Regions from separate parts of the Homo sapiens genome. Here region 1 is linked to region 2. The links are contacts of gene promoters, found by promoter capture Hi-C in blood cells and fetal thymus (Javierre and others, 2016). All regions are on one chromosome and are shown on one strand. The core of a region is centred on a gene start or on the middle of the fragment in contact, and the rest is flanking DNA. Distances in the headings are between cores, read along the strand shown. Region 1 overlaps SLC22A5 (solute carrier family 22 member 5). Region 2 holds the start of GDF9 (growth differentiation factor 9).

Region 1 (4,502 bases), core at 1,337-3,836, 470 kb after region 2:
ATTTGTGCAAGAAGGCTGGCTCAGCCCATAGTCAATTAATAAAGTGAAGAATTCTAGTGCACAAGAATCAAATCTTAGTCTTAGAGATTAATCCCAACCATTGCTAGAATTAGCCCAAGCTGATACAGAGAAAAGGCAGATGACAGTGTGGCACAGGCTCACTAAATTCTAGAAATAAAGATTCTAGGCAGTTGCTGTTATTTAAAAAATCATTTTACTTATTAAAACTTTCTCATTTCCCAAGGCACTTCAGTAGCTTTCACAAAAACATGTTTGTTCTTTTTTAACCAGGTGAGGCATATGCTTTAGGAGTACCATGGTAACATAATCAGCAAAGAGAAGACAATTACACTGAACACAAAATATCACCCAATAAAGTTACAGGACTAAAGTGAGCTACTCTGAAAGACTATGAACACAATTTAAATTTCTTTTTTGTAATATCCTCCCATGACTAAGTATCAAGAAAGGAACACACACAATGACACTGTTTTTGGCACTTAGAGAAGTGCTAGAGGCTAGGGCTGGTAAGGCCTTGCACCAGTGGCAGCTGCAGACAATTGCCAGAGTGATTCTGTTTTAAAAAAAAAAAAAAAAAGACACAAACCAGGAGGCTAAGGAACCAGCCTTTCCCAAGTGCATTCTGAAGGGCAAATAACAAGGAGAAAAGGATACAACAACAAACAAATAAACAATAAAACAAAACCCACATTACAGCTTTGAGAGAAAAGACAACGTTGCTCATCTCTCTCACCTGATAAATTTCCTTTAAACCATACATAAGACGCTATAGTAGCAAGGAGGTTTCCACAGCAGTGGAAAACAAGAATAGTAGATTCAATGGAGCATTTATTATGAGCCTGGACAAGCCCAGTGCTTTGATCAGATGTAAACAAGTCTACTCAGTCGTCATGCTGAGTGGTCTTAAGAGCTCACACATCAGTGCACTTTGCTGGTGATCTGCATCTGCTCATTCTGCTCCATCTTCATTACCTTTCACTTTCCCTAGCTCTGCGCTCTCCTGCCCTGGGGAAGCAATGATCCAGTTAATGTCCTCTGTAACTGAGAAAAGGTAAGAATCAAACTCCTTGTGCAATTACTTCCTTTTCCTCTAAAGTTCACCACTAGAGGGGAGTGGGGAAAGGGGTGGGGGACTTAGACCTCTAGCCTTATTAGGGGCCTTTTCAAGTAGTCTAAAATTAAAATGTACATTTAGCATATGCTTCTCACATTCCTCCAGATCTCACTGGTTCTAGTGAAAAATTAACTGCTTTGGAGGTGCTGAGTCCATCATTGTAATAGTTAGGACTTAGATGAAGTTGTCTGTAGGTAGCCCCAGTGTCCCTAGAGGAAGGTGGTGCTCTAGGGCCATATGTAGCCTCTGAGTGTGGGTGCCCATCCAGGAGCAAGTCAGACACAGGTCAAGAGGACAAACAGCAAAGGCCTTTTGTCACTGAAGGACTCGGAGTCTGCACAAGCTGGCCATTTCTGGCAAGACAGTCTTTCCTCTTCAGTTTCTCCCTTACTGGAAGCGATGTTAGAAGGCTGTGCTTTTAAGGATTGTGGGCCTTTCTTGACCATCTTTTAACATCCTTGTGTGACTTGGAGTTTTTCTGTGTTTCATTCTATAAAAACAAGCAAAAATATGTCAGTAACACATTTTAAAAAGATGCCTCCCAGTCTCCAAACAAACAAGAACTGAGGATATCTTCCCTGGGAAGAGAATCCTGCAGCAGATTCTGAAAGGTTTCTTCTAGCCTCTGAGTTATCCAGTGCGGCTACTGCCATGGAGATGTGTATAGTGACATGTCCACACAGGAACAGACCAGAGAGGATGGGCTATAAGTAAGCACCTTGCCATTTACAACCCTTTAATGGCTAAACTAGTCCATGGTGTCTGTGAGAGGGAGTTTGCGAGTAGCTCTATTGTGAGGGGCTCCTGAGACCTGGCCAGACCCAGACCCAGTGCATCAACACTGACAGAGGAGGTCTTCTTACCCTTTGACTCTTAGCATCTGGTCAATGGTGTCTGGGAGTGGGGTACCGAAGCTCTCTGGGAGAAACAAGGTGAGGATGGCTGTCAGGATGGTCAGACTTCCCATGAGAATGTAGGGCAGGAAGCGGTCGTAGGCACCTATGGCAAAGCAGACGGAGCCTCAGGCCCAGGGCTGCAGTTAGACTTGGTCTCTCATCTACCCCTTTATGCTCCCAGGACTCTGGAAGGGGATCACTTTCCTTCTTGGTCTCACATCTCTCACAGTCTGAGCAGTCAGATTAGAATCTGGCATCTAGACAGGTTTCAGAACCCAGAGCTGGCACAGGCATGCCCAGAGCCCAGCAGTGTTCCACCATGCAGGGGAGGAGTACAAAGGGGCGGTTGCAGTAGAAGAGCTGGGCCATGCTGATTATTCCTATTTCTGGGCCATGCTGATTATTCTTATTTACCAAGGTTGGGTTTCCAAGGAACCTGAGGTACTTGTCCAGGGATGGAAATAACTCTTCCACCTCTGCAGATGTGTCCCAGCCCATGTGATCTGCCTTCAGATTAGGCAGGGTGCTTTTGCTTGCTTTGAGATCTACATAGCATGTTCACAAAGCACTCTGAGTACTCTCAGGTGGGTGCCACCCTCCCTAAAGAGGTACTGGCTAGGGATGTGCAGGAAACCACAGGTGCTATGAAGACATAATTCTGAGAAGAGAAAACTGGAGACCTGCTACATAAAATGGCATGGGGTGGATCTTCACACAAGATAAAATCACTCTATAGTGCTCTAGGTTATAATAATTTTCCGTTCATCAGACCTCTTGCATGGACATCTTTCCCCTCATGTTCCTTTTAAACTCTGATTCCAAGAAATTTCTCCAACTAAGCACACTGGCTCCCTAAACCACTCTGTAGGTTCTTAGGATAAAGGAATTGTAGTCTCTGATGGAAGGCCTGGGATGGCTAAAACAGAAACAAACCCTCTAATATTCTCATCAATTTCTAGGTAATCTATAGGTTGTTTTCCATTTGAAAGTGAGGGCCAGTGCACTGGGACAAGAACCCTTCCCGGCCAAAGATCCAGTACTGGATGGAGCCCATGTACTGTATGAACTTGTTTTCCTGTTAACACGCAACCTCCAGCTCACATTCAAGCCAGTTAGTACTTCCATCCCGTTGCTCTAGTGTGCCCTTGGCTCATGGGACTTACCAAGGTAAACGAAGTAGGGAGACAGGATGCTGCCCAGGCGGGATGCTGTGGAGCTGACTCCCACACCCATGTTTCTCACCACTGTGGGATACAGCTCGGCTGTGTACACGTAGACCATGGAAAAGGCAGCCGTGACTCCAAACTTGCCCACCATCACCAGGACTGTAGCCAAATAATACAAGTCTGGAGAAGCAAAGGAAAGAGGGTAGGAGTAGGTACCAACCCATGGCATGCAGCTATTGAGAGCAAAACAAACATACTTTCTTCCCAAATTTTTTGGGGAGTCAGTTTCTATCACTTCCTATTGTGGGGGAAGGGGCTATAGCCAAGATTTCCCTCCAAATTGATTGCTGAAAGGAGGCTGGGACCTGCAGCTATAAGGACATGCACTTTCCTCAACCTGGAGACCACCAGAGTAAGCTCCTTAATAGTCCAATCAACCTGCTTCCCAGTCTATAAGTCATTAAAGACATGTCTGTCAGGGATTAACTGTCACCCCAGAACCTCACACTGCAGGCACTATGGAATTAACTCATGATGTTTAGATGAATGGAGAATTCAGTTCTAACTCATTTCATGCTTTCCTCCCACTCAGACCTCAAAAAAATCATAGGCCATCAGAATCTCAAGTTGATCTTCTAATCTCTCTGTGCTGTGCTGATGGGAGAGCTATGTGTGACCTGAAGGTCACTCTGAGCTCAGCTGTGAGCCTCTACATCAGTTCTGGGCTCCTCCTGCCACATCCCATGGGGAGCTGTTCCCGTGCAGTGTTCTCAGCCTGATGGGCCCAAAAGTGACCATCAGAGGCTCCCAAATCTACAGGTACACTGAAGTCTCTGGGCACAGTGATGGAGAGGGAGAGATGAGGGCCCATGAACTGTTCTATAAATTATTGGAAATGGCTACCTCCCACCCATCTGTGGGATACTAAGATAGTTTCAGAAATAAAATCCTGCTAAGGCTCTGTGAGGCCCTCTCAGTGGTCTGGCCCCTCCCCTTCTCCCTCCTCCTCAAACATGCCAGGCTCATCCCCTGCTCAGGGTCGCTGCCTTTGCCATTTCTTCTTCCTAAAATGTTCTCCTAGACTTTTTCAGGGCTTTCTGTCACTTTATGTACATTTCTACTGAACTGCCCCCTGTTCAGGGACACTATCTGTGACTATGTAAACTAACTCGGCATTGTCCTTCATTTGTATTCCTAGAAGGTAACACAGTCTGAACTATATTAAGCATTTTATTTACTTGTTTGTTGTCTGTCTTCTCATCTAGGGTGTACGTTCCATGAGGGCCTGGGGTTCTGCCTGGCTTG
Region 2 (4,646 bases), core at 223-2,722:
TTTATTGTTGCTATGGGAGCAGAGGGCCAAGAACCAGCACTCGCCATAGCCCATGTCACCCACAAATGGTTAGATGCAGGAGTACCTGCAGCTACTTTCTTGTAGATAATGGAACAAAGGGGGAGCCCTGCTCTTTCACCAAAACCCGAGACCAGGCAAAACTTCAAGACTCATGCTGAGGAGGGGCGCTTCATGAACTTGAATATTAGTGGTCACACAGGATTCTACTCACAAAAATGTAATATCACAACAGTGCAGACCATAGGAAGTTTATTGTGTCTTTGAGACACTACAATGCAGACTCCTCTTCCAGAGAAAGGTCTTTCAGAGACAGGGAACCGTCATCCGGATGCGTTGCTCATTTGTCATTTTCATAGGCAGCTGGATTCTTCCTCTTGGATCTCTCGAACTCTTCAGTCCCCCATGTGTAGATAAGATAAAACACTACAAACTCTTTAAAAATTAAGAGAGTAAACAGAGAGCACACATATAAGACATATAGAAGAAAAAAAAAGGTCTCAGTCCTCTTGTCTTCTTTAAAGCATACACTTCAGTAGTTCTTAGCATATCCAAGGCCATGCAACTATCATCACTATCTGCTGCACGTTTAACACAAAGCATTTCACCACTGGTAAGAACTAAATAAAGGTGACCTCAGAGGAACATGCTGGAATCACCCGAGTGACCTTGGGCCAGTCATTTCAGTTCTGTAGCTCAGTTTTCCCCGTGTAAGATGGGGAGGATAATATGACCAGCTTAAGGGCGGTCAGGAATATTCAATGAGAAAGGTGTGTACGGCAAGTTACAGAGCGCCTGCCCGGCCGCCAGCGCTCAGAGGGGAGGCGCAGTGACTGCTGCTGCTGCTGGGGTCCAGCCTCCCGCTCCCGCGGGCCCAAGGCACTCACGCGGCACCACGCGAAAGAAAGACTCCCGAATGCGGCGCAGAACATTGGGGATTCCTTTAGTGAAGACGTGCGGATAGGCGCGCTGCTCGAACGGTGACAAGCTGTAGCTGATCACATGCCGCATCCGCGTCAGATTCCCAAACTCGCGGCCCATTGTGGCGGCGGCCCTGCAGGACCGAGGGTGGACAGGCGCTTGGCTCGCTTTCGCGAAGCGCCGCAGTCCCCGCGGGGGTCCATCCCCAACCCCAGACTCCTGCCCCTGCACTCCTTATCCTTTCCCAGCCCAGCGGGGCGCCCCTAGCCTCCCAGGGTCCACGAACACTGCACAACCAGACCCCACTCACGCACAGGGCTCAGCTCGCCCTCCACAGTCACCGATCCGGTTGACTCGTTCGTCATTTCCGGCAAGGTTGGAAGCCGCTCTTGGAGGTCGTGAGGTAACTTCCGGGAGATACCATTTTCCTACTGTCTCTAAGGGATGACGCCTTTGTCCCAGAAAGAAGTGGGCTGACTGGGTGACCCGTAGGTGGGAGGTGCCTTGGAGGCCCTGCCCGGGCCGGTGGGGTGGAGCCTAGCGGAGGACGTCGGGGATTGAACTGACTTTGGGGGACAGTGGACAGGCGGAGGCGCTCACACTTCTCCTCAGCCCTCGGCTTTTCTGTGGAATCCCAGTCAGGAAGCGGCCGAATGCGGGAGGCGGGGGAGGGAACAAAAAGGTGACGAGGAAGGGGCCTGCCGACCTCCGGGGCAGCGCTGGCCAGGAGCTTGGGGCCTGCGAGTCTTCCCAGCTGTAGACAGAGCGCCTCTGAGCCCCGAGGCCGGGCCGCCCCACAGCAGAGGAGCACGAGGTTTCATTTGGCCTTGGCCAGTAGCTCAAAGGGGGCTTCGTTATTTTCAGGCCATGAGCGACCCCAGCACCAAAATCAGGGACACACATCGAAGGCTTCTCTTGGACTCTGTTTTAGAGTCCCCTGGCAGGCTGTTAACGTTCCCAAGAGATAATACAAACGTTTCGTCAGTTTCAGCCACAAAAATAATCAAATAATCGTCAATTGATGAATGCTGAGGCCGCCTCGACAGCAGCCAGCGTCCTCCCCAGATGGTTTGCGTGGGGTGGGGGGAATCACGATGCCCCAGTTCTTTCTTCTCCCCACGTGAGAAGCAAGGAAAGTCGGGTGAGAGGCCTTATTATGTTTTCCCTGAAGTGCATTCTGCTTGACGATGCTGTTGTCAATGTACAGCTCGCCCTGAGGTGTCTTGTCAGTGTTTTGTTAATGGAATTGCTGGCCATATTTTATCTAGGACTAAGCTCTCATTCAACAGTTGGCTGTGTTTTATAACACTACTTACGGACCACGGAGGCTCGGCAGGCAGTCAACTTGTATTTTGCAGACATACCTTAGTTTTCTCATGTAGGTACTGCACAAACTGGCTTCGTATCTTGCACTATGAGTGTAGGCTGACTCTTCCAGCATAGTCTCCTTCGGGGTGGCGCTGAATATCCCCTCATTTCAGCTTTTCATGGTGCTCCTTTGCCTCATTTTTTTAAACCATAATGTCTAGCCTGGTCTCAGCTCCAAGGCAAGAACAGAAATACAGGTAAGGACAGAAATATTGTGGCAAATTCTACCACCATTTGGATGAATAATAATAAAACGTTCATTTATTTTATAGCATCTGCAAACATCCCAAAACCTTTCAACCAAAATATGTATAGATGAGTGTGCAGACCAAAGTAAGGACATCAGTATGTTACATTTAAAAATAAGTCAAGGTTAAAGGCGGTGTCCTCTTTTAAGAACATCGCAAATACAATTCCAGTACTCCAAGTACGTATTCTGTACCCAGCCACCTGGGAGGACTGAGAGACCTAATGGTTTTCTGCTTTCTGGAACTTCTATGCCAATTGTGACTTTCTCACCCAAATTTGTAAATTCGCAAATTAACATGCAGCGAATAATTACAATTGTAAACACCTGGAAGTGGAAAAGGCCGTGAGGATAAATTGAGAGGAAGAGTAAACCTAATACCATAAGTTGCATACCAGCAGATCTGAGTATCGTCATGAATAATTGGTTAGCTTTTCCACATGCCTTAGAAGTTTCAGCAAGCACCTAGCGAACATCTTAATCCAAATTTCTCAAAAAATGAGAGATTTTATTTAAGATCATTCCTCAATTTATCTTAGACTTTCAGCTACATAGTTAGTCCGGTAGTGTAACAGTAACGGGTTTTACGTAAATGCCAGGGGAAAAGAGAGGAAAGCTAAATAACCAAGTAAATCTGTATCTAATTAACAAATTGGCTAAATAAGGTGTTATCAGCTGCTTGATATAGAGCTGATAAAATCTTCAGCTAGGCATACTTGAGGCCTGATTACAGAAGTGACCGTAGTCCACCCACACACCTGAAATTTATTTAAGAGACCAAGCTAGGCTCTTCCTGGCCTTTAGGAAGAGGACTGGCATGGAGAAATATGTTCCTCACTAGTTCTCCCAAGCCATGGCACGTCCCAACAAATTCCTCCTTTGGTTTTGCTGCTTTGCCTGGCTGTGTTTTCCTATTAGCCTTGGTTCTCAGGCTTCTGGGGGAGAAGCTCAGATTGCTGCTAGTGCTGAGTTGGAATCTGGGGCTATGCCTTGGTCCTTGCTGCAGCATATAGATGAGAGAGACAGAGCTGGCCTCCTTCCCGCGCTTTTCAAAGTTCTATCTGTTGGGCGAGGTGGGTCACCTAGGCTGCAGCCAGACTCCAGAGCTTTGCACTACATGAAGAAGCTCTATAAGACATATGCTACCAAGGAAGGGATTCCTAAATCCAATAGAAGTCACCTCTACAACACTGTTCGGCTCTTCACCCCCTGTACCCGGCACAAGCAGGCTCCTGGAGACCAGGTAACAGGTATGTGAAAGCAGATTGGTTAACTGGGTGGAGGGAAGATGATAGACACTTCTGCATTTCAATTACAGAAAGGAGCTGAGCCTAGTTCCTTGAATTGTATTTTATTTTGCATAAAACTCAATATCCAGTTGAAACAAATCTGGGACTTGAGCTTATTGTTTATTCCTAACGCTCTCATTGGTTAAGGTGGGCTAATATGATGGAATTTTAAAGCAACACCAGAGACTTAATGGCTTTCAAGGCTGAGCGGAAGTGCTGCTAGAGAATGTTAGCACCTCTTTCTGTTCCACCAAGCTTTTGGCCCAGAAATGGACCTTAAACATCTCTTACAGCTATTGGTGTGATGTGTTAAATAGGATATTTTTCTCTTGTTTGTTACTTTCTGTGAGAGAAAAGCTTAAAGTTCCCGTTTTGAACAGTTGGCCCTTACAAGAACAAAGTATCAGTCCACAGTTTGACTCAGCAGTTGGGTGTGGTGCTTTAAAAAATTATAACATGGTGAAACCCCGTCTCTACTAAAAATACAAAAATTAGCTGGGTGTGGTGGTGCATACCTGTAGTCCCAGCTACTCGGGAGGCTGAGGCAGGAGAATCGCTTGAACCCAGGAGGCAGAGGTTGCAGTGAGCCAAGATCGCACCACTGCTCTCCAGCCCGGCAACAGAGCGAGACTCTGTCTCAAAAAAAAAAAAAAAAGTATATATCTACCAGCTCTTGATTTAAAACCATTCTAACCCAACAGGGCAGTTGTATCTGCTTCCTTAATATCCTATTTTAATATAGTGGTTTTAGAGCATCTGTTTTTAATCTCAAGTGTTCTAAATTAACTAGGACCAATTACATT

What was found. The method cuts DNA at HindIII sites, captures the fragments that hold promoters and counts their contacts. A CHiCAGO score of 5 or more calls a contact.
Region 1: a fragment that was not itself captured here is called in contact with the fragment with the promoter of GDF9 in region 2 in 2 of 17 cell types (total B cells and naive B cells); the score reaches 7.3 in total B cells.

The regions. Positions count from the first base shown.
Region 1 is chr5:132,391,308-132,395,809 of GRCh38, reverse strand. SLC22A5 (solute carrier family 22 member 5) reads right to left here. Exons shown (of 10, transcript NM_003060.4): 8 at 3,195-3,377; 9 at 1,999-2,134; 10 at 198-1,625. The coding sequence ends at 1,538. Among named protein-coding and RNA genes, the nearest start is that of CARINH, 17 kb to the left of the region's middle. The HindIII fragment of the contact is 5,582 bases long and covers 1-4,502 here.
Region 2 is chr5:132,863,295-132,867,940 of GRCh38, reverse strand. GDF9 (growth differentiation factor 9) reads left to right here and starts at 1,472. Exons shown (of 2, transcript NM_005260.7): 1 at 1,472-3,804. The coding sequence starts at 3,408. UQCRQ (ubiquinol-cytochrome c reductase complex III subunit VII) reads right to left here and starts at 1,299. Exons shown (of 3, transcript NM_014402.5): 1 at 1,254-1,299; 2 at 906-1,072; 3 at 1-453. The coding sequence starts at 1,059. The coding sequence ends at 359. RefSeq lists enhancers at 961-1,461, 1,462-1,962, 821-2,020. The HindIII fragment of the contact is 4,688 bases long and covers 1-4,100 here.